Linked DNA regions of Homo sapiens: regions 1, 2, 4, 5, 6 and 7 are each linked to region 3. The links are contacts of gene promoters, found by promoter capture Hi-C in blood cells and fetal thymus (Javierre and others, 2016). All regions are on one chromosome and are shown on one strand. The core of a region is centred on a gene start or on the middle of the fragment in contact, and the rest is flanking DNA. Distances in the headings are between cores, read along the strand shown. Region 1 overlaps SMCHD1 (structural maintenance of chromosomes flexible hinge domain containing 1). Region 2 overlaps SMCHD1 (structural maintenance of chromosomes flexible hinge domain containing 1). Region 3 holds the start of MYOM1 (myomesin 1). Region 4 overlaps SMCHD1 (structural maintenance of chromosomes flexible hinge domain containing 1). Region 5 overlaps SMCHD1 (structural maintenance of chromosomes flexible hinge domain containing 1). Region 6 overlaps DLGAP1 (DLG associated protein 1). Region 7 overlaps DLGAP1 (DLG associated protein 1).

Region 1 (3,224 bases), core at 537-3,036, 510 kb after region 3:
CCAAATTCAGCACAATTTTAAAAGAACTCACCTTAGTCTATATAGTGTTGTTGTAAAGGAATACCTGAGGCTGAATAATTTATAAGAAAAGGATGTTTATTTGGTTCACAGTTCTGCTGGCTGGAAGACTGGGCATCTGGTGAAAGCCTCAGGCTGCTTCCACTCATGGTGGAAGGTGAAGGGGAGCCAGTGTATGCAGAGATCATATGGCAAAAGAGGGGTGAGGGAGGTGCCAGGTTCTTTTTAACAACCAGCTCTCATGGGAAATAATAGAGCAAGAACTCACACAATAAGCCCTTCATGAGAGATGTGCACCTATGACTCCAAAACCTCCCATTAGGTCCCACCTCCAACACCGGGGATCAAGACAAACATCCAGGCCGGGCGCGGTGGCTCACGCCTGTAATCCCAGCACTTTGGGAGGCCGAGGCGGGCGGATCACGAGGTCAGGAGATCGAGACCATCCCGGCTAAAACGGTGAAACCCCGTCTCTACTAAAAATACAAAAAATTAGCCGGGCGTAGTGGCGGGCGCCTGTAGTCCCAGCTACTTGGGAGGCTGAGGCAGGAGAATGGCGTGAACCCGGGAGGCGGAGCTTGCAGTGAGCCGAGATCCCGCCACTGCACTCCAGCCTGGGCGACAGAGCGAGACTCCGTCTCAAAAAAAAAAAAAAAAAAAGACAAACATCCAAACTATACATAACAACCAAGTGAGATTTACTCTTGGAATGCAAGCATGGCTCAACAAATAAAAAACAAACAAGGCTACGTGCAGTGGCTCATGCCTGTAATCCTAACACTTTGGGAGACTGAGGCAAGAGGTCATTTGAGGCCATGAGTTTGAGACTAGCCTGGGCAGCATAGGAGACCCTGTCTCCACCACAAAAAAAAAAAAAGGGAGCCATGGTGGCTCAGGGCAGTTGTCCTGGTGCATAAGGAGGTGAGGCTACGCGTTCGAGGCCAACCTCGTCAATATTTTTAAAAAACTCTCATCCATTGATAAAAAGAAAAAAAAAAATTAGCTGGGTGCAATGAGCATGTCTGTAGTCCTAGCTACTCAGGAGGCTGACGTGGGAGGACCACTTGAGCCCAGGAGTTTGAGGCTGCAGTAAGCCACGACTGTGCCGCATCATTCCAGCCTGGGTGACAGAGTGAGAACCCGTCTCAAAAAAAACCCCAAAAAACAAAAAACAACCAATCAACGCAATACATCACTTTGAGAGAATAAACCTACATAATTATCTGGACTGATGCAGAGAAAACATTTGGGAAAACAATACTCTTTCATGATAAAAACACTACACAAGGAATAGAAAGAAACTTCTTCAACATGATAAAGGCCTTATATAAGACCCGCAGTTAACATCGCATGTACTCAACTGTTAAAGACTTAAAAGCTTTTCCTCTAACATCAGGAACAGGACAAGATTCTCATTTTGGTTACTTCTATTCAACATAGTATTTTAAGTCCTAGCCAGACCAATTAGGTAAGAAAAAGAAATAAAAGGCATCCACTTTGGAAAAGAATAAGTTATTTCCGTTCATAAATGACATGTTCATATATGAAAAAACCTAAATAATCCATAAAAAAAACCCTGGTATAGCTAATAAACTCAGCAAAGTTGCAGATACAAAATCATGTTCACGGATTGAATGACTTACAATTGCTAAGGTAAAAATAATACTCAAAGTGATCTGCATATTCAGTGTAATCCCTACCAGGATCGCAATGGTGTTTTCTGCAGAAATAGAAAAACGCATCCTACATTCATAGGGAATCTCCATGGACCCAAATAGCCAAAACAATCTTAAAAAACAAGAATAAAGTTGGAGGACTCACACCTCCTCATTTTAAAACTTACAAAGCTACAGTAAACAAAAACAGTGCAGCATGGGCATATGAACAGACATATAGACCTAGGGAACAGGGAGCCCAGAAATAAATTCTCACATATGTGGTCAACTGACTTTCAACAAGTGGGCCAAAACAATTCAATAGAGAAAGTATAGTCTTTGACAAATGGTGCTGGAAAAACTGGATATCTACAGGCAAAAGAAGTTTTCCATATAAAAAGAAGTTAACCATATGCAAAAGTCAAGGTCAGATGGATCAAAGTAATAACAACAGAGCTAAAGCTATAAAATTTGTAAGGAAAAAACATTCAGGAAAAGCTTCGTAACACTGAATTTAGTAACAATCTCTTGGATAAGACACCAAAAGCACAGCCAACAAAAGAAAAAAGAAACTAATTGTTTGTCAAAATTAAAAAGTTTTGTGCATCACAGTCACCATTGACAAAGTGAAAAAGCAACCCACAGAGTGGAAGAAAATATCTGTAAATCATTTATCTGATAAGGGATTAATATCCAGGATTATAAAGAACTCTTACAACTCAACAACAAAATTTAAAAATGGCCAAAGGACCTGAATAGACCTTTGTCCAAAGAAGATATACAGATGGCAATTAGCCCATAAAAAGATGGCCAAAATCACTGAATATTGGGGAAATGCAAATCAAAACCACAATTATCTTTAGTAGGAAAAAGGGGGGAAAAAACCACAGTAAGATACCACTTCATATCTGTTAGGATGGCTATTATCCGTCCCCCACAAAAAAACCCACAGGAAATAACAAGTGGGGGTGACATGGAGAAACTGGAATGTACAATGAGGCAACCACTGTGGAAAACAGTACGGCAGTTTCTCAATAAATTAAATAATAATATGACCCAGCAAGTCCACTTTTGGGAATGTATCTAAAAGGAACCAAAGCGGAGACTCAAAGAACTATTTGTACACTGATGTTCACAGGAGCATTCTTCACGATAGACAACAGGTGAAAGTAACCTGAGTATCCATCAAACAAATGGATAAACAAAATATGGTGTATGTGTATACATGTGTGTGTGTATATATATATATATATACACATATACACATATATACACACACAAGGGAATATTATTCAACCTTAAGAAGGAATGGGAATTCTGACACACTATGCTAAGCGAAACAGGCCAGACACAAAGGACAAATATAATTCCATTTTTATGAGGTACCTAAAATAGTCAAATTCAGAGACAGAAAGTTAAAAAGTAGTTACCAGGGCAGGGAGAAAGGAGTGATGAAGAGTTATTACTATAGAGTTTCAGTTTGAAATGATGAAAAAATGCTTTACATGGATAGTGGTAATGGTTGCACAACAATATGAATGTACTTAATGC
Region 2 (3,531 bases), core at 233-2,732, 470 kb after region 3:
AGGGGAAAATGACAAAATTTAACATAGTATACTTAGGAGGAAAGCTTATTATATACCTAAACTGAATGTGTATCTGGATTCCATTTATAAACATACAGGTATATATACACACGTTTATATCTTCATAATACATGTAAGGTACAATGTGAGATTAGTGACAGTGGAAAGACACCCCATTATTAAAAGACACACAGTAGAACTTTATGGTGATATTATTTAAAGATAATACCAACTTGATTGGACTGATGGTCTAAATTAAGCAAGCAAAGATTCAGGATTAATTAAGCAAGATAGTTTCCAAAACCAATGATTAAAATGAACCATAAATGTTGAAGTAGATTATTATATCAGGACACTGATAAACTTTAGTTCCCAATTTTAGATTTATTTCAGATCTGCATTATCCAATATGGTAGCCAATGGCTATGTGTGACTACTGGGCACTTGAAATGTGGCTGGTCTGAACTGATATACAGTGTAAAATAAACACCAAATTTCATAGACTTGGTAAGATAAAAGAACGTAAAATCCTAGCAATAATTTTTAAACTATTGAATATATGTTGAAATGGTAACTTTTGATATATTAGGTTAAAAACATTAGAATTTTACTTATTTCTTTTTAGCTTTTAAATGTAGCTACTAGAAAGCAGAAACACCAGGTATGATCTTTCCACTGGACAGCACTGTTCTAGACCCTCTAACTCTCCACTCTCTTTCAAGCAGTCTATCAATCCTATCTCTTTACTATCTCATTTTCTATATTATCCCCTCATATTTAATAGCTTCTGCCTTGTGCTACTGTCCTTCAGATGAAATAATTTTAATGTGTAGGCATCTTAAAATGTTAAGAAACATCACAATGTAGACTACTCTTTTTCAATAGCATCAATCTTTAATTTTGAAACATACATTGATGTAATTTCTTTAACCCCAAAGGAATGAAGTAAATTCACTTCCATTTCTCAAATTTATATAACATTATATATTTACATTAAAGGAGACTTAGTTTTAAGTTAAATGTAAGAACTATTTTTAACTTCAAAAAATGCTTCCCATGACTCACATTTGCTGGGGGTCGGTTCCCACTGGTAGACAGCTTCCACATTTTCATGGAAATACGTGCTGGATTAATGTTTTTAATGATACTGTCATCTTCAGAAATAACACTAATCATAAAATCTGTCATGGTAAACGTTAAAAAATTATCTCTTTCTAGTTCAATTAATGGATATGGTTAAATAATTGTATGCCTTAAAGCAAACATCTTATTTAAATGTTTAAAGCACACGTTATTTAAATGTTAATACAATTCTGATGAAGAAATGTATAAATTCTAGCATACAAGACCAAAAAGACTAGAATGTATACTCAGCAACTTAAGAGTTAGGCCAATTGGTCATAGCACCATATGCTTTATGTATTCCAAGAACAGAATATTTACTTTCTTGTATGATTTTCGATAGCATATAATAGCCAAAAGATCAATATATATAATATTCCCATTATATTTACCACCTGTAACATTCATTTGGCACCTGTTACTAATTTTTTAATCACAGGAAATAGATCTCCCTGAAATAGATTTAAAACTTTATATACGGTATAGTCTACTTTATAGGGTAAAAAAAGCTATGTATACATGTAACTTGATTATTAAAAATTATTGTCAACAATTTTTAAATCTAAACTTTGAGGTGCTTCATTCACTACTTAAAACTATGTATAGGGATTCATCCTTTTAAGAAAACAGAAGTCTTCCAGAAAATTATTTGTGTAAAACAAAAACTAATTTCCTATTGACTTAACATCTGCAACATGATATTGAAATCATTTGCTTCCCTGTCTCCTACATTAGACTGAGCACACTTAACCTAGGATAAGTAATTTATTCCACTAATGTACAAAGCAAATTATCATTATAGATTTATTTATGTATGTGAAATACTCACCAGTGAAAAGACCCCCTGCTAAGAAGGATGCATCTTTGTCATATTTAACATTGAGACGAACGGGTTTTTCTGGGTCTGGAAGAATCATTAACTTAATTATAGGTCCTTCTATGATACTTTTGTTATAGATGGCTTTAACCTGAAGAGTATGCTCTCCCCTAACAAAACAAAAGAGGAGAGGGGTTCAAATTACATTAGTTAATAACCTAAAAATTCTGAGACAATTTATGCAAAGTTCAACTCTTAGAAAAACCTCTCAACTTCTATTCAGTCCCAACTCTTGCCTAACATTAAACAGAAGGATAGTCATTAGCTGTAACTTCGGCAAGCAGTAAGAAAAACGAATCTCTATAACACCAACAACTATCAAACTTTTGGTTCTTACCTAGGGGCAAAAACACTGAATACTCCCAAATTAGCCCTGCCTTTCTCATCTGTTTTATGCTGTTGGTTTGAAGGCATGAGCTAAAAACAAAACAAAACAAAATGGTTAATTAGAAAATTCTAGAGATCAATCAAGTTCTTTTCTTCCATTACAATGTTCTTTCCCTCTATTCCTATTTTAAAAGCAGTATTTGCATACTTCTAAAATCTAAATTTTAAAAATCTGAACTAGTTGGAATAATGTAGTATGTAATGATATAATCCAAAGTAGAATAACAATCACTCATCTTGATCAATTTCACTAGAATTTAATGTATTTCAGTTACTAAGTTGCAGATTTCTAGTTCACTGTTTCAATATCACTGATAGATCAAATGAAGTTTGTTTACACAAACACAGAAGGTATATTCTAAAGCTGGGGCAGGTATAGGGGACTGCACTGGAGAAATATATACTGTACACACATACTCAAGTCAAAGCATCATAGCACTATCTTCATTCTTCATTTTTCTCTTGAAAGTCTACTCAGATACACTTCTCAAATTTTTGCTGCAATACTACATTCACAGTGATAACCAAGCTTTCACTTTCAAGAGATTAAGAATCAGTGGCCACATTTCCTAATAACTGGTCTAGAAGGGTCTCTCAGCCTTTTACAGATGGTTCTCCAGAAACTAGAATCATATCTTTATTCTGGGGTTGAAAGTAATCATTGTCTAACTCTACTGGAAGCAAACATTCAGAATAACAGTGAATTTGTAGACCACAGTAGAAGAAAAATCAGACTTTCTCCCAAATCCTAAAACCCATCTCAACTTAATAGAACCTAAAGAGTAGGTAATAATGGTACATGCAGACAGGAAAAGCAATAGCTGAACAGGAAAAAATGAGAAAGGGTACTTGAAATGATAGGATGAAATCCTATGTTTATACCTGTCCCAATTACCCTCTGGTCCATTGTCTCTCAACCCATCTTTCTCAAAGTATGTCTCCCATCTGGGTATCAAATCCTTACTGCTAAGCCAGAGAAGTAAGTCTTTTCAGGTCTTAGAGCAGCAGTATCATAGCCTCATTTAACAGACTCATTTAAAAACTCCAACTGTAATTACTATGAAAACAGGTCCATGTGTAACAAGCCATTCTTGGCACTTTAATCTTCCATACGACTTTTAAGATCACCTTTTCAGGTTCTGGGA
Region 3 (3,670 bases), core at 1,041-3,540:
AATAAAACTAAAGAAGAAAAACTTGGGCTCATATGAATCAATTATTGTAACTTAGTTATGATTCCTTTATATATGTGGACTCTGGTCAATTACACTTACTCATGATACCCTTACAGATATGTGATTATCCTGAAAACTTAATGGAGTGGTTAGCCAGCTGTTAATTTCAAATTTCCCAGAAAATCATCTAATGTAAAACACTTTTTAAAAAGCATATAAGTTTATTTTTCCTCTTTTCTGCTTTGAGAAGATTTGGGGCAATTGACCAATGTTCTCTAGAGAAACAGCTCACCAGGAATCATCCTAATGGCTGGTGGATAAGACTTGAGAAGAATCACTGCATTCTGTATTGGATATTTAGAGAACAAATGGATGCTTGGGGAACATAACACTTGGAAAACTCGCCTATGGCTTCCAGATAGCTAAAATGTCCACATGCTTACTAATAGCAGAGGTATGTATATGAAGAAATTCCAGGTTGAATTTCACAGGTACCTGGATCAGAACTAGGTGGAACAGATTCTTTTACATACTTTGAGTAGCTCAGAAGCTAACCGTCTATTACAAGTGAAGACCCGTATTGCCATTTCAAAATGTCTAGTTTCTTACTATCAAAGTGCCACTGGAGGAGCCAGCAATACATGACTACAAGTACACGGGCTTTGGAATCAAATGTCTCTGAATGAAGTTGCGTTTCTGTCATCTACCCGCTGTGTGATCTTTGGCAAATGCCTTCCCTTCTGGAAGCTTTGCTTTCCTCAACGGGGTAATGAAGCTGTACCTTGCAAGGTATGATAAGTCAGTGGGATCATGTATATAAACTGCCTATCCCAGTGTCTGGCACTGGATAGGTCCTCAACAGTGTTAACTGTAGTTATCATCAAGAAAGTCATGATGAAGTATACTATAATATTGAGTCTGTTCAATATCTTGATAGAGACTGGGTGCAGTGGCTCACGCCTGTAATTCCAGCACTTTGTGAGACTGAGGCAGGTGGATTACTCGAGTCCAGGAGTTTGAGACCAGCCTGGGCAACATGGTGAAACTCCATTTCTACCAAGAGTTAAAAAAAAAAATTAGCCGAGTGTGATGGCATGCGCCTGTAGCTACTCGGGAGGCTGAGGTGGGAGGATTGCTTGAGCCTGGGAGGCAGAGGTTGCAGTGAGCCAAGACTGCACCACTGCACTCCAGCCTGGGCAACAGAGTGAGACCCTGTCTCAGAAAGAAAAACAATTTTGATAGACACAGGTGACCTTTATTCAGTTGATGTAATATCACTGTCAGAACATAAGGCCAGTAGATCAAAATACCAACCTGCTGCATACATGTAATCTAACAATGAGCTTTTATATTATTGGTATCAGTAATAACAGCTGATATTTACTGAGTCTATATTATGTGACTGTCACTAGGTCAAGTGCTCTGTCTGCAGTATCACATTTAATCACCACAGCAATCCTATAATTTGGATATGATTATCCCCATTTTATAGACAAAAAACCTGAAGCTTAGGAAGGAGAAATAAATTGCTGGAGATTACATGGCTACTAAGTGCTATCAATATAGTGGGATCTAGATCTGGTCTGAATCCACAACACAGGCTCTCACAACCGGGTTACACCTCCTCTTAATTGGTCACACCATTTAAAGAACAAAGAAAGAGAATCTCTTATTAGATGGACTGACCCTACTCTGAGTTAGGAAAGATAAAACACTGAGTTGCGTCTCAAAAGGCTTTAGTTAATGAACAGGAAATCACATATTCAGGCTTGAAGCTAAGACTTAACCTTGTAAATTTTCCTGAAGTGAGAGAAATAGTGACCGTGATGTCAGGCAAAAATCGCCACCACGTGTAACCCATTTCTTCCTTGTTTTGCCTTTAGTTAGCTTCAAGTTCTTTTTTCACATTGTATCTTTTAAATGTACCGTACGTGTGTTGTTAACAGCACACTCAGAATCATATCTTGGCATTAAAATTCCACGAAGTCCATTTTGAGAATCATATTACTACACCTATTTTTAGCTGTTAACACAAACCACTCTTTCCATTACACTTTTAAATTATCTACTGATAAAGTGACATTGAAAATAACTCTTGTTGCCAAATAAAAACCCTATATTTGGTTTAATCGGGCCAGACCCATTGACCGGCATTATGCAATTATATTACTAAGGCTGCTACCTGCCCATGCCCCTCTCCTCCTCCTGGTTTGGAACTACCCTCCCCATCTGCTGCTATATTTATCTGCCTTCTTGGCCATAAAAGGCTGGTTGTGTGGCCTGACATTCGACTGCCTGACCACATGCATTATTTTTGAACTGGCCCCCAGGGTCCTGTCTTTAGCCCTGCCTCTTAACATTGTCTTGGATTCAACCTAGGTGGAGTCTTCATTCTCTCATCCAGCTCCTCGGCCTCATCGGAACATTTCCACCACCATTACTCCTTTGGAAACTGGTAAGTGTGACACTGAGGCAGAAGAATGCACTTGATAGCTTATGAGCTTAGCAGCAGTGCAGTGTAAGTGCTTTCTTTCTGTCTTCTGAACTCAGCAGTTTTCTCAAAGAGATGTCAGAATAACAGAGAAATAGGAAAGTGAAGCTCCAGGGAGGGAAACCAGAACAGCCGGGTGCCAGTCGGGCTGGCACAGCTCTTCTCTCACATCACTGTATTCTTCTGAAATTAAGCTGCTGTTCCTGGAACTGTAAGGAGGTCATATCTGCCTCGGATTGAACTGTAAGCGTGTGTTTAATGCTATTTCCAAGTACGGTTTGGTTGAAATCTGAAATGGATGAGAGACAGGAGGCCCTGCATTTTCAATCCTGCATGTGCCATACAATGCTCCCTGGTTACAAATTAGACCGAAAGAAGGAAAATTAACTCTGAAGTCACTAGTTTATAATTCAGGGATCTTGCTGTGACGATGCAATGTGGATAAATGTGAGCGCGCACAATGATATGGCCTCAAATGGTTAAGTAATATTTCAGAGGCAACATAGAGCCCCACATAGTGATTTTTCTGGGAATCGTTTTCATCAGCTTCTGCCCTCTAATGCCTGCACAAAAGTATCATAAATTACAGCTATGGAATTTGTATTTCTTCCTAAATTCTCAAATTATTTTCAGAAAGAAAATTTAGGTCTTAAAGAAACAAAAGACACTAAAACCATCTTTCCTCCCAACGTACTCCAGCCGTCATGTGTTGGAGCTAATCCTGGCTTTAGTTAACTTCAAGGGCTTACTTGATGAAGAGGAGGTGGTTGTACCTTTGTTCCAGAGGTCAGGGCTGTGACAATCAGCAATGTGGGCTTCAAGTCAAACCCTGTTTACTTGTAACTTACTATCTATGTGAGAGGAATAGTAAGTATTATTAAAAATAAATGTATTTGGGAGAAATAGAAATAAAGAGAGTAAAAAATAGTATTGGGGCAAGATATTTAAAGATTTTATTTTGTGAAAATAACAGCATTTCAAGTCATCTGGGGAATGAATTTAGTTTATAACATAACAAGTTTCTTTATTATTTATTTGAAAAATCATTCAAATAACATGTGCCATGTTACAATGTAGTATCATAACAGAAACTTCTCTAATATCTTTATAACTGCCTAACGTAATTCTGTATTAACATTTTCTAACCCCTTTGTTTTATCAAAATTCATCTAGTAGTTA
Region 4 (3,623 bases), core at 361-2,860, 490 kb after region 3:
TTAGGTTCTCTTAACGGGTTACTGAGAAAGTTTGAGTATTGTGCCTCTAGTTTCCATTTTCCCTCATAAGCCCTGTGATTTTTTATTGTACAATTTTGCACAGCAGAGTGATTCTGGAGAATGCATGTGTCTCATTATAGAAGAACAAACTGAACTTTGAAAGAAGCAAGCATAGACTGTCCACTATTCTTTCAGTCAACCATCAAAGGAATGCTAAAAAGCTGTCTACTTTATGTAATAAGACTTAACATTTTGATTTGGCTCCCTGTTCAGTGAGGTGTTAAGTTTCAACATGCAGACTCAACCCTATCAAGGTACAAATGTCATATTTAGATGACAGCAGGTTGATGAGGACCAACAAAACTCTTTTCTAAGGATCATATTTTTAGAGTGGTATACCAATTTCAATAATTTCCAATGGCCAAATAGAGGCTCTGTAGTTAACAACACTGTTTCACTGCTTGCCTTTAACAGATCTTTTGTTTAGTGCTTTCAGAACTGCTACCAATTTATTGCTAGCTTTATCAAGGTGGTGATGTTGATTATGATTGCAGAAAAACAGCTAGTCAGGAAGAGCACAACTAAACAAAATGCCAAAACCTAGATTTTTAAGTGTCAAAATCATTTTTCTAAGTATAATTTTGTCACATATGAATCATTTGCATTTCAACCTATTCCATGAAAAAAGCTTATTCTGCTTACAATTTGAAATGATAGTATAACTTTTCTGTGACAAGCTTCTTTTTTAGATGCTACCCATAAAACGGCTTGTTCAGTCTTACAAACATAAAATTTAAAAAGTTCTTACAAATAACCAATCTGTTAGAGATACTTACTTTAATTTTTTCTGCTAAAGCTGATGTTATATTGATTTCTCTTTCTCCTTCATCATACATTTGAAAAATAAGATTATGCATAATATCACCCGCTATCCAATTAACCTCATCCTGATGTTTGATCTGAATTGCCTTTTGTCCTTCTACACTGAATATTTGTAGTCTTGCAACATGGCTACTGGGAAGCAACTTAATAGTCTTCTCCACAGGTGCCACATCTTTACAACTCTAGAAAGAGAAGAAAACACAAACACTGAGTGATATCTGTACTGAAATTTTACACTCCTGAAGAATTTACTTTCAATATTATGGAAGACCATCTCATACATTGTTATACTCACAGGTTTTGTCATTAAGATGGCATTATACTATTAATAATTCCGTATTTTATACCATCAGGTTATAAATGGCAGTGGCCACATTCTTAAAATAAAAACAATTGTATGTGGACTAAAAGGATTCCCCTCCTTTTTATTTTTTTTGAGACAGAGTCTCACTTTGCCTCCTAGGCTGGAGGGCAGTGGCATGATCTTGGCTCACTGCAACCTCTGCCTTCTGGGTTCAAACTACTCTCCTGCCTCAGCCTCCAGAGTAGCTGGGATTACAGGCGCCTACCACCATGCATGGATAATTTTTGTATTTTCAGCAGAGATGGGTTTCACCACGTTGGCCAGGCTGGTCTCAAACTCCTGACCTCAGGTGATCCACTGGCCTCGGTCTTCCAAAGTGCTGGGATTACAGGCATCAGCCACTGCGCCCGGTCCCTTCCTCTTATTTCCAAGTTTCTTTAAAAGTATTGCCATCTTGTGAAATTTTAATTATGTTACATACTCTGTTAGTATTTATGAATAAGAACAAAGATGTAAGAAATTAAGAACTTTCCATAAAATCAGAGACAAACAGCTACCATAAAATACATTATTTAATGGTAACAGATTACATTAAGGCTTTCAGTATTTTTTCAATTCATAACACATTGGGGTAAGTGATCAAGGTTGTTTATAGCCAGAGAAGGCCTCTAGATGCCCTGAAGACAACTGGTCAACATATTGGCATATTTACAATTTATTATTGGCATACCAGTGTTCTACAGATCAAAGAAAAGACCAAGATTATGCTATATAAATTGATTTTAGGCACACAAAATTAAAATATTACATTATTTCATAATCTAGTTATAGTCCATTCAACAGCACACACTAAATTTAAAATAAGTTTAAACATAAAATACCTTTATAATCTTACTTAACTCATGTCTCCTTCCTCATCCAGTTGCAGCCATTTAACTTATGGAAGCCTATCCACGTGAGTGATATTAAAAATTCCTACCTCATGGAATGTCAGGCACATAACCATCTTCTGTTGTATCTTACTTGCCTTACTCCTAAACTCAGTTATTGCCATTGGATAACATTTTGTAACTGCCTATTAGAGGATTTACGTTGGCATTTGTTTTAACTGACCTGAATTCTTGGTCTTCTCCTGAGTGGTCTGTAGTATTTACAAAAGTCCTAATGCCTGCTGCTCTTGCCTCCAAGTCCAGATTCCTCCCTAATTCATAGTCATCTTTTGCAAGAAAGTGTGCTCAAAAGTATGTTGCCCATATTATTGCATAAAGAAAATGCATAAAAAATACTTTAAGCTTATCAAATATAACAAGCTTAAAAAGAACTGGAATGAAGAGTCATCTCATTCTAATTTAAAAAGTAAAAGACATCTTGTATCCATTTGAGGTTCAAGCTATGTTAATAACTGATGTATAATTAGTAGGAAAGTATGAGTTAATCAACCAATTAGATTATCTATCACCATATCAATTACTAAGAAATCACATTTAAGTATTTTACTTAAGTATCTGTTACCCTACTCAGCAACCTTTGAAGTTTTACTTAAGTATTTGTTATCCCACTCCACAACCTTAGATTGTTTACAGCTCTTGCCTCCATGTTGGCTTTGCTATCAGCCACGATGAATCACCAATAAAAAGCATCCTACTGGCACATGATATAGAAATCCCTTTGTGGGCCAGGCACGGTGGCTCACGCCTGTAATCCCAGCACTTTGGGAGGCCGAGGTGGGTGGATCACGAGCTCAGGAGGTCGAGACCATCCTGGCTAACACGGTGAAACCCCATCTCTACTAAAAATACAAAAAATCAGTCAGGCGTGGTGGCGGGTGCCTGTAGTCCCAGCTACTGGGGAGGCTGAGGCAGGGGAATGGCGTGAACCCAGGAGGCAGAGCTTGCAGTGAGCTGAGATCGTGCCACTGTACTCCAGCCTGGGCAACAGAGCAAGATTCCATCTCAAAAAATATAAATAGAAATAAAAAAAATCCCTTTGTGTAAAAACACAAATAAAAAGCTATGTGTGTATAGAAAATTACATACAAAAATTAAAGGTTTATATGTCCTTCCATGGTGGTTTAAACAGAGATATTTACCAAGCTTTCTAAAACAAATGAGAACGATAAAAAGCAAAATGGCTGGGCACAGTGGTGCACACCTATAACTTCAGCACTTTGGGTGGCCAAGGTGGGAAGACTGCTTGTGGACAGGAAGTTGAGATCAGACTGGGCAACACAGCAAGACCCTCTTTTTCAAAAAATAAATAATAAATAAATAACCAGGTGCATTGGTCCTTGTCTATAGTCCCAGTTACTTGGGAGGCTGAGGTGAGCACATCACTAGAGCTTAGGAGTTGGAGGCTGCAGCAAGTCATGATTGTGCCACTGCACTCCAGCCTAGACAACAGAGTGAGACCCTATCTCTTTAAAAAAAAAAAAAAGCGA
Region 5 (3,651 bases), core at 733-3,232, 420 kb after region 3:
GACTGAGGATGAGAAAATCCCTCATAGTGATTTTAACAAATTTCATGAATATAATCAGGATGCAAAGAGGAGAAAGTCGCAGTCCAGAATACACCAAATTTTCCACCTAAACTTCTAATACCGCCATCACAAAGCTAAACAAATGATAGCTTTGTGTGTGTGTCTCCCCATGTACTAAAGGCTGCACTGAAAATATGGTTCTTTGGCTTCTCTAAAATCACTGACACTCTTTCTCCCTCTCCTTGATATGATACAGTATTACTATGAAGTATCTTAGTGAGTATTTTGTCAGTCACTGTTGCTGGGCATTCAATGAATTTTATTCATCCCTAGGAAATCCTCTTCCACATGATAGCATTTCCTTCTCCATTTTCTTCTTTCTAGATTCCTAATAGTCTGAATTGGTTCTCTATGTCTTCTATCTCTTTTTGTATTGGGGAAGTTTTCTTTTTGGACTTTAATCCTCCTATTGAACATTTTTATTTCAGCAACAATATTTGTAATCTGTTTATTCATTCTTGTCCTGGCTCCTTTCTGCTACATAGTAATTATAATTTTATAAAAGAGGTCTAGTCTCTTTACTAAATTGTCCTCCATGTTGATTTTGGAACTTAATCTTGAATTTTGTCTCTCACGTTGCTGGCTACCCTCATATGTGTGATGACTGTTAGTTGTACAATTACATTTAAGAAAGAGGATTACATTGCTAGCTGGAATTTCTTCTACTATTATAAAAATAGAACTGTTTTACCAACAAGTCTCTTCTCCGAGTGGGACTTGATGGTAACTATAACTGGGATAGGGCAAATCAACGTCATGGGTCCACAGGTTTTGCTTTAAACATGTGGATGTTGGGCCGAGCATGGTGACTCAGGCCTGTAATCTCAGTACTTTGGGAGGCCGCGGCAGGAGAGTAGCTTAAGCCCAGGAGCTTGAGACCAGCCTGGTCAACACAGCAAGACCCCATCTCTACAAAATAAATAAAGTAAAAATTGTTGAATTAAAATCAAAATAGATAAATGTGCAGGTGCAGAGCCAGTTATCAGCCTTTTAGTTCCCAGAGGCCAGCATTAGGTCCTAGTGTGCCAGCAACTACCAAAAGCCAATATACCAACATTTAATTCATTTCCATTGTTATCTAACTTTGTAGTGGCATCTTTTCATGCCTGTTGACAAGGAAACAAAGCTTTCAAAGTTTGGGTTGAAAATCTGGTACATTCTAGGCTGTGGCTTCCTTTCCTTTTCCATTCTGTTCCGTCCTTTTTATTTGCCACTCTCCCTGTTTGGGAGACAGGACTCCCAAACAGGGAGAGTTGCTGGACTTCTCACTCTTTTGTTCTAACTGACTCTGAATCCAAAGTGTTTCTGGGGCTAAATCAGGCAGACTGTCTCCTATTATTTCTAGACTATTTCCCAATCCCTTCACCTCTAGTATATTCTAGCCTTGTTTCTATCCTGTTATCTCCAGAAAACCTCAATCAAACGTGAACGCAAAATGAAGACATTTTTCGGACATAGAAGGGCTCCAAGTTATCTTTCTACACATTTTTTCTAAGGAATTTATAAGAGAGAGAAAGACATGGAATCCAATAAATAATGGATATAATCCAAGAGAGTAACTAAGGAAGACCCAGGATGGCAGATTTACAGGAGGCCTGCACAGTTACTAGTCACTGGTACAGGAGGAAGAAGATGTGATTAAGATACATAGGGAAAGAAAAAAAAAGGTGGCAATTAAAAACTCCAGAAAAATTAACAAGAAAGAGTCTTAGTAACAATTGGAATAACACTTCACGTGATTTTAAGAATAACAGAGTAAGGAAGATTTATTTGAGCCTGATGTTTGGAGCACTAACTGGTGGCCTAAGTAAGAGTCATGACATTAGACCCATATAGAGAAGGAAGTGTAATTCTAGCACACAAGTTTGCTTAGTACAATATTTGCCTGAACAATATTTACATAGTCATAATAATGTAACTTTTAAAAGTGGAGGCAACAATAGAGTAACTAAAAATTAACAGTTAAAACAAAGGTTGCCTCTGAAGGATGGAATAGGGGTAAGGATGCATAGGATACAAGATTTTACGATCATCAGCTCTTTCTATACCTGTGCAGTCCAAAACGGTAGCCACCAGCCATGTGTGTGGCTCCAGAGTACTTGCAACGTAGCTAGTCCTAATTGAGATTTGCTGTCTTCTGAATTGTGAAGACTTTGTATTTAAAAAAAAAGAATGTAAAATAGCTCATTAATCATTTTTAACGTTGTTTACATGTAGAAATATTTTGGATATTGGGTTCAATAATATCTATTATTAAAATTAATCTCACTGTTCCTTTTTTCCTTTTTAATATGGCTTCTAGAGAATTTAAAATTATATATGTGACTCACGTATAGTACAACACTGTAAATCTATACCATTTGATATATACACATATGACCGATGATCATTATACTACTAACAATATTATAAACTAAAACATAAACTCCCTCTGAATTGCTACAAAATCTTAATTAACAAGTTCCAAATCAATGTCCACAGTAGCGCTGTAGTAACTGGAAGGTCTAGGGCAAATTTAGTGCTGAGACTGTGGCACAAAAACATGTACCTTACATCTTAGCCTAGAACTGCACCTTGAGGAATTTCCTTAGTGGGAAGTGGGTTCTGGTCTCTCTAAAAAATAATCCCACTGTTCATAAAATACTTCTTTAAAAAATTATGGCAAACCTATATAAAAGCAGAGGGAATAATACAGTGAATTTCCTATTTCAAGCTTTAGTAATGAAAACATTTTGCCAAGTCTTATTTTGATATCCTCTGCCACTTTATTTTCCTGGAGTATTTTAGAGTATATCCCAGACACCATATTATTTAACCAATATAAGAACTTTCTACAAAGAATAACTTTTACAAAGAAGAACTTTCTGTAACTATTTGGAAACCTGGAAGATAGTTCATACACATGTCTTTTCTATATAAATACATAAATTTTCACAGTCACAAGCAGGTGCCCTACCAACCAGCAATGATGACCAATAAGGGATTTTTGCGTCATTTTGAACTCATAATTTCTAAAAGTTACATGTCTAAATCCACTGCAAAGAGTCTTTCTTTCTGATGCTAAACTGCCCCAACACACTTTGAATGATCAGCTTAATAGTCTGTATACACCTCATGCCCATGAACACATCATTCACATGCCTACATGTGTGATACTCAAGAGATATCAATGAACTTAAAATAGATTTTTTTTGCAACATGATGAGGGAGGAGTTTCATAATCTGGCCTCTGCCTCTATGTCCGACAATAGTTTGGTCCTCTCCCTCTTGCATACCATACCATGCCTTAGACACTAACATCTTTTCAGTTCCTCAAACATGCCACACCTGTTATTTTCTTAGAGCATCATGCCTCCTTCCCAACCTCTGACTGAAACCAATCCCTATATGGCTGGTTCCTTCCCATCCTTCAGTTCTCTGTTTCAATGCATCTCTCCAGACAACTGATATTGTTTCCCTATTATTTTCTATTACTTCATCATTTTTTCATTCCCTATTTTCTTTCTTTTTTTTTGAGACGGAGTTATGCTCTTGTTGCCCGGACTGGAGTGCAATGGTGCGATCTCAGCTCACTGCAACCTCCGCTTCTTG
Region 6 (3,293 bases), core at 521-3,020, 450 kb before region 3:
TGGACAACACAGTGAGACCTCATCTCTAAAACAAAACAAAAAAATTTAAAAATAAGAAAATTAGCAGGGTGTAGTGGTGGGCGCCTGTAGTTGCAGCTACTACGGAGGCTGAGGCAGGAGGCTCCCTTGAGCCTAGGAGTTCAAGATTGCAGTGAGCTATGATTGCACCACTGCACTGCAGCTTGAATGACACAGCAAGACCCTATCTCTAAAACAAATTTAAAAATTGTTTAAAAAAAAACTTTTTAAATTGACAGATTAGAATCTGATCAGTTTCTTTCCAGAGCTACTTGAACATCTCAGGAGATTCTGCTAAGGATGGAAAAGGAAGGAGTTTTAATTTCAAAGTTTCATTCCATGTCTTGTCAAACCAAGTCTAGATTTGCCATTTAGAACTGCATTCTCTGATCCTGTGTTTTAAGAGAGGTTTCTCCATGTAGATGAAACCAGGAGCTGCATCCTTCCTCGGATTGGTAGGTGTTCCATGGGCTTTATCTGTGCGGCGTAATGACAGCACACAAACGCCAGGGGGCAATGCAGTTTCACCGAAGAATCCTAGGAAACTCGGGTCTGGCTTTGACTAAGAACATTGGCAGGATCCTGGGGCAAAGGTGGAAATCCTTACTAAAAAGAGTTCCGCCAAGGAAAAAATATGTTTAAAAATCCTTTCTTTGAAAGCTTCCTGCATTGTCATCAAAATTGCCCTTCAGTATTTGTGCACAGCTGGAAGTTTTGTGATATTATTTGCAAAAGATTTACTTTTCGTTTTTTCTCAATGCGGCTGCCTAGTCTTTCCTGGAAGGTTTCCTGGGTCTTTCTGCGTAGGAAGGATTATTCTAACCAGCTCTCGGGTAGCCTGGATCACATTGTTAGGACTCTGTTGCGTCCTCTGCCTGACCGCGGGGCTCTCTTCCCCCGGTGCCCATTCAGCGCTTCCAGCTGCCTCTGCGGTTGGAGCCGGGCTCCCTTTAAGGTAATTCCAGTCTGGGCCTGTGTTTTGTTTCCAGCTCGGCAGCCGCCAGGTGTCTGCCCTCCCTTAACCTCCAAGGATGAGAGATCAAAGGTGCCCCTACATCTGCCTCCTGCCCAGCTCTTTAATCTGTTACATGTTCAAAAGGGACAAATGCAGTATTGTGCACTCAGGGAGGGAGGACAAATCAGAGAAGTGGAAATGGGCAGAGCCTCAGAATGTGTTAACTTACATAAATGATACGGAATATGCCTGTCGACATATTAGCCCTGCCACTGTAGAGGTGTTTTCTTCTTAAAAGAGCAAGAATATTATGCAGAAATGGAAATCCTCTTTTCTCCCTTTGGAAGCCTACTAAACCCATTTAATGAAATATCGTACACAGACCCATTTGGAGGTCACTATTAGAAATATAACGAGGTAAAACAAAATATTTTTTAAATTTATGAAATGGAAATTACAAGGGCACTTGTAGAGACCTGAGCTTATTTTATATGTGGCAAAAATGATAAACTAATCTTTAAGCAGAGCAGATATATTTTAAGAAAGACTATTCCCAGCGGAGCATGTATTTTCCATATCCGTAGAGCTAAGTAGGGGAATGCATTTTAAAACAGTAGGAATTCAGATTAGGTATTAAGAAAATAATACTGAGAGCAATGGTTATGGAAGGTACAGAATTTTCCTAACAGCACTAAGGAAGCAGCAATTATTTCTTCCATTTTTAGAGGAAGGGGTTGGGGGGAGGGGGAAGAGCTCCTGATCTAGTAACAAATTGTTTCTAAACTTAAATTTAGAAACATTTTAAACAGTTTGAGCATCCACGATTTTCTTTAGACTTTTAGGAGAGCTCCCTAATTTCCAACTAAAGACATAAATGTGAACAGGCACTAATTACTTTTTTCTCTATGCATTCCTGCGCCCACACACCCAGAGGCTCTCTTGTGCTTCCTCTTCCCCAGCGGTTACAAAAAGGAACTCCAGCAACTTCAGTTGTGCTTAGCTGCCGTCACAGACAATAGCATAGTAGGACCAGTGGCCTCATATTAAGTCACAGTCTTTCCCAGTTACAATGGCTGAGAACCCAGATTTTCACAAGGTGCAAAGAAAAGAATATTGACATGGTTATTAAAAGCTATGGTGAGAAGGGAGTCTTTATCAGCTGCTTCAAATATTTCATTCACCTTCTTAACAAATATTTATTCTGCACTTACTATGTCCAGACATGGTGCTGAACTCGGGGAATTCACTGGTGATCAAAAGCAGTCTTACCCTTTGTTCTCATGGAGTTTACCATCTAGGGGTAGAGACTAGCGTCAATCAAATAATCACAGAGATAACTGCGCTGAAAGAAAGAGACAGTTCTTGTGGGAGGATCTATTGTAACAAAGGGACTAATCTAGAGGCTCAGGGAGAACTTCCCTGAGAAAATCCTCATTAGCTAAGAGTCAAAGGATCAAGAAGGGTGAGGGATGGCACGTGCTAATTCTGCATTCAATATTAGTAGAACTGAAAGGGTGATGTGGCTGGAGTACCAAGAGCTAAGGGACAGGGCACATGTGTAGTCAGAAAATGTATGCACAGCTGACTATGTCTGTCATCTGTTGCTACATACCTTATTACCCCAATGTGGAGCAGCTGAAAAACAATCATTATATTATACCTTATGATTTTGAATCAGGAATTTAGGCAGGGTTCAGCTGGGCAATTCTTCTGTTCCACATTCAGCTAGAAGTTGGTGTATTAGTCAGAGTTCTCCAGAGAAGTAGTATATCCGTGTGTGTGTGTGTGTGTGGGTGTGTGTGTGTGTGTGTGTGTGTGTGTGTGTGTATACTGACCCATAATTATGGAGGCTGAGAAGTCCCAAGATCTGCAGTCAGCAAGCAAGCTTGAAACCCAGGAGAGCCAATGGTATAGTTCCAATCTGGGTCCAAAGACCTGAGAACATGGAGAACAATTGTGTAAGTTCCAGTTCAAGTCGAAGTCCAAAGGGAAGAGAAGACTGATGTCCCAGCAGAGACAGAGAATTCTCTCTTACTTTGTCTTTTTGTTCTATTCAGGACTTCAACTCATTGGACAAGACCCACCCACCTTAGGAAGGGAAGTCTGCTGTACTCAATGAACTGATCCAAATGTTAATCTCATCCAGAAACACCTTCACACACACTCGAAATAATGTTTGTTCAAATCTCTGGGCACCTCATGGCCCAGTCAAGTTGACACACAAACTAACCATCACAGTTGGGCTGGTCTTGAGAGTCCAAGACAGCATTATTCACATGCCTGGCACCTTCATTTCAATGGCTGGGAGTGTGGGCTCCTG
Region 7 (3,436 bases), core at 599-3,098, 480 kb before region 3:
CAGCCTGGCCAACATGGTGAAACCTCATCTCTACTAAAAATACAAAAATTAGCTGCGCGTGGTAGCACAGGCCTGTGATCCCAGCTACTAGGGAGGCTAAGGCAGGAGAATCACTTGAACCCAGGAGGCAGAGGTTGTAGTGAGCCGAGATCGAGCCACTGCACTCCAGCCTGGGCAACAGAGCAAGACTCTGTCTCAAAAATAATAATAATAATAATAATTACTATTATTATTATTATACTGGGATATATGGTCACCTTAGTTAAAATGACATTTTGAGTCTGGAATTGTGTTTAAGTCCTGGGCCCTTGGTGAAACAATATTTTAATGCTCCTTGGGGTCTGATGGTTTGGGCAGAGTAGCCTTTTATGAAGAATTATACTGCGACTAAATCAGTATGATATGTTTAGCTCCATATTTTCCAGCAAATTTTTAAGGGATAAATACAGATAACTCATTGCAACTATAATACTGCACCATACAAGCACAATGCTGTTGACAAGGAGGTATACAGAGCAAAGCAAAACTGCATTCTAACCCCCTGAAGTTTCCTGGAAAAAAAAAAAAAAAGTAGCCTGAAAAGTTGAAAATGTTTCTTTCCACAAAATAAACTGGAATAATCCCTTCATTTATTTTAGAGTCCTTTCAGATAGCCTTGCAGATGGTTCGCTGAAGTCATCATGCCAACAAAATTCGTTTGACTCAAAAATTTAAATAGCCCTACCAAATTATGTGTGTTTCTCTTCTAATAAAAAACTGAATGTCTTATTTCTATCTGCTAAGCTTATTCCACTCTGCAGTTTGTGAACTGAACTACAGAAATAACTCCTTAGAGATGCACACTTTTGTCCTCTATTACCCAATTCTGGAATCCCCAAATATAGTGTTATAAATGCTGACTTTTCTCATTTGCTTTTGCATGTATTCATGTCTTGTCTCTTTACACAAGACTGCTATCCAAAACATCCAAAAGGCATTAAATACTAATATTATGGAATCATAAAGGTGTTCTTTCTTCTTCTAATTGCATGCATTCCTGCCAGTCTCTATGACCACAGCTGAGTGACAGATAAAGCCCAAATTAAAAATACTTCCCTCTTGGCAAGATACCTCCAACCCAGTGGGCTGCTCAGTTGGAAAGCTGGGAAGTGGAGAGGCATGAGTCACTGTGTTCTCTCAGACATTTTAATTCAGAGTTGTTTAAGAAGATTTAAAAAAAAAAATCAAGCAATGGACCCCCAAAATGACCATTTCTCACTAAGTCATGAAATTTAATTTTTTCTTTTTCTTTTTTTTTTAGATGGAGTCTCGCTGTGTCACCCAGGCTGGAGTCTGGAGTGCAGTGGTGCAGTCTCGGCTCACTGCAACCTCTGCCTCCCGGGTTCAAGCGATTCTCCTGCCTCAGCCTCCCGAGTAGCTGGGATTACTGGCGCCTGCCACCACACCAGCTAATTTTTGTATTTTTAGTAGAGACAGGGTTTCACCATGTTGTCCAGGCTGGTCTCGAACTCCTGACCTCAAGTAATCCACCTGCCTCGACCTCCCAAAGTGCTGGGATTACAGGCATGAGCCACCACACCCGGTCAATTTTTTCTTTAATGTGGGAAACAGAATTGCCACCTCTCCCTGCAACACCTGAAAGGAAGCATGGTCTCTAGGCAAAGCCATTCTTGCCAACCTCTGGGGTCCCTGGCATGTGGCACTCAGCCCTTCCCGTGGGCCCCGCAGAGCATCCTCCTAGGGGCTAGGATGTGGAGAAATGCAGTGAGGTGACTCAGCTGCTGTGTCCTTTCTGCTGTCACTGCTGTCTTGTTTTTACATTTTTTAAAGTATCTGTTCTTGGGTGCTTATGGTTTTACAAAGCAGCCCTAATGTTCCCAATGGTATAATTGCCTGATATAGCCATGACTGCTGCTCTGGGAACTGTCAAGATTAGAAGCCCTGCCTGTGAAGGGGAACGTGGGGAGGAATTTGTATCATGTAGGGTGCAGTAATCTCCAAGGAAATTCTCTTCGCAAAAACCGTGTGTGGAAAGTCTCCCTCTGGCGGCTGCTGAGGTGTGTTCATAGGGGAAAGAATGCATGTCAACCGTAAATGGAGTCTGTGAAGCTGCAACTAAAATGTTTCCAGAAAAGAGGGCATTTGGTTGCATCTTCGGGAGGAAAATAAGAAACAATTCTTTTCTAGAATTAAAAAACAAAAACAAAAAACAAAAAAGAACGAAAAGAGAAGAAGAATGCAGAGAATGTGTCCATATCTAGTGAACTTTCAAATATCCCTCCGTCTTCTAAAAAGAAACAAGTGGACAACAGCCACTCGCTCTCCTCTGAACACACATCCTCCTCACACTCCTCCTTCTACAGAGATCAGGGCCACTGCACTTTCGTGCTTGAAGCAGTTCTGGGAATTTCTGTCCTCTATTTTCTGTGTCTGTCTAGTTCACTACCAGTCTCATTTATTTGTCCTTTATAGTATTTCTTTATGATACTTCTCATGTTTTCTTGCCCTTCCTATTAATTTCTCCAGCCTATGCATGGACAACTGCCCAGTGGCATTTGGAGTAAATGCAATAAAATTCAGAGCACGTGAATCAAAGGCTCTCAGTTGGCAAGTTCAGGTCTTTTGTCAGGACAGCGCCACATTCCATCCCAAGGACCAGCTATATCCGGTGATCCTGAGACACAATCTTGACACCACTTCAAAGATTCTGGAATTTGGAATTCAGGACCTCTAGTGCCATCATGTGCCTGGGTCCCCATCCTCCTTCCTAACCCTTGTTTTCCCTGAATGGCCTCATGACCTGTTGGCACCATCAGGCTCCACATCTTAACCAGCTCTGGGCTGATCCTGCCTTCACAGAATTGAGAACACTCCAGAGACCCTTGCTTGCCTTTGTCCTAGCAAGTAAGCTTTCATGTCAATTTCTAAGACAAAGTCTCCATCTTATACTCCTTTCTGGGACTTGGATCCCTGTCCTCTCTCTTCTCCCTCTGTCCCTTACTGCTTCCTGGATGAACTGCCTGTACCTGAGTGGCTGCAGGAGCGAGCCTGTCATTCTCCTCAACCCCACTGGTAAGGGGCCTGCCACTGGGCTGCCCTGACTTTTCAGTTGTTACTTATTCCTCATCCAGCAGCTGTCTCCTTCCAGATCTGAGCCCTCTGGCTCCCCACAGAGATTTACTTAAAGTCTTCCAGCTGTGTGATTTGCTAAGATGCCAGCTACCTTGTTGTATCTGATTACTTCTAAGATGATACATATAGGATCCCATAGCCTGCCTCGCTCCCCTGTCTCTCAAACCCAGGGAAGGGTCTAGGAAGAAGCCCAGGATCCTAGGGCGCCTGCATGCAGGAAGTCCACAACCCTGCCAGGCTCTCCCCTAGGGGTCTGTTGCTGCCTCTCTTGGGAACTTGTCTATTGCCATCCCATAGAAAGGTA

The links. Contacts are between HindIII fragments. The CHiCAGO score rates a contact against its expected background, and 5 or more counts as called.
Region 1: a contact is called between a fragment that was not itself captured here and the fragment with the promoter of MYOM1 in region 3, in 1 of 17 cell types (megakaryocytes). The highest score is 5.4, in megakaryocytes.
Region 2: a fragment that was not itself captured here is called in contact with the fragment with the promoter of MYOM1 in region 3 in 1 of 17 cell types (megakaryocytes); the score reaches 7.7 in megakaryocytes.
Region 4: a fragment that was not itself captured here is called in contact with the fragment with the promoter of MYOM1 in region 3 in 3 of 17 cell types (megakaryocytes, activated CD4 T cells and M0 macrophages); the score reaches 7.4 in megakaryocytes.
Region 5: a contact is called between a fragment that was not itself captured here and the fragment with the promoter of MYOM1 in region 3, in 2 of 17 cell types (activated CD4 T cells and naive CD4 T cells). The highest score is 6.1, in activated CD4 T cells.
Region 6: a fragment that was not itself captured here is called in contact with the fragment with the promoter of MYOM1 in region 3 in 4 of 17 cell types (naive CD4 T cells, non-activated CD4 T cells, total CD4 T cells and 1 more); the score reaches 6.3 in naive CD4 T cells.
Region 7: a fragment that was not itself captured here is called in contact with the fragment with the promoter of MYOM1 in region 3 in 1 of 17 cell types (neutrophils); the score reaches 5.6 in neutrophils.

The regions. Positions count from the first base shown.
Region 1 is chr18:2,708,936-2,712,159 of GRCh38, reverse strand. All of the region lies in intron 17 of SMCHD1 (structural maintenance of chromosomes flexible hinge domain containing 1), which reads right to left. Among named protein-coding and RNA genes, the nearest start is that of SMCHD1, 55 kb to the right of the region's middle. The HindIII fragment of the contact is 775 bases long and covers 1,399-2,173 here.
Region 2 is chr18:2,748,928-2,752,458 of GRCh38, reverse strand. It overlaps SMCHD1 (structural maintenance of chromosomes flexible hinge domain containing 1), which reads right to left. Exons shown (of 48, transcript NM_015295.3): 31 at 2,337-2,416; 32 at 1,952-2,109; 33 at 1,066-1,181. Among named protein-coding and RNA genes, the nearest start is that of SMCHD1, 95 kb to the right of the region's middle. The HindIII fragment of the contact is 2,871 bases long and covers 47-2,917 here.
Region 3 is chr18:3,218,588-3,222,257 of GRCh38, reverse strand. MYOM1 (myomesin 1) reads left to right here and starts at 2,290. Exons shown (of 38, transcript NM_003803.4): 1 at 2,290-2,455. The HindIII fragment of the contact is 10,525 bases long and covers 1,510-3,670 here.
Region 4 is chr18:2,729,706-2,733,328 of GRCh38, reverse strand. It overlaps SMCHD1 (structural maintenance of chromosomes flexible hinge domain containing 1), which reads right to left. Exons shown (of 48, transcript NM_015295.3): 25 at 837-1,064. Among named protein-coding and RNA genes, the nearest start is that of SMCHD1, 76 kb to the right of the region's middle. The HindIII fragment of the contact is 1,741 bases long and covers 740-2,480 here.
Region 5 is chr18:2,797,841-2,801,491 of GRCh38, reverse strand. All of the region lies in intron 47 of SMCHD1 (structural maintenance of chromosomes flexible hinge domain containing 1), which reads right to left. Among named protein-coding and RNA genes, the nearest start is that of EMILIN2, 47 kb to the left of the region's middle. The HindIII fragment of the contact is 1,587 bases long and covers 1,189-2,775 here.
Region 6 is chr18:3,663,691-3,666,983 of GRCh38, reverse strand. All of the region lies in intron 7 of DLGAP1 (DLG associated protein 1), which reads left to right. Among named protein-coding and RNA genes, the nearest start is that of DLGAP1-AS6, 12 kb to the right of the region's middle. RefSeq lists a silencer at 921-1,215. The HindIII fragment of the contact is 2,180 bases long and covers 681-2,860 here.
Region 7 is chr18:3,702,438-3,705,873 of GRCh38, reverse strand. The region is part of intron 7 of DLGAP1 (DLG associated protein 1); the gene reads left to right. Among named protein-coding and RNA genes, the nearest start is that of DLGAP1-AS6, 51 kb to the right of the region's middle. The HindIII fragment of the contact is 2,126 bases long and covers 786-2,911 here.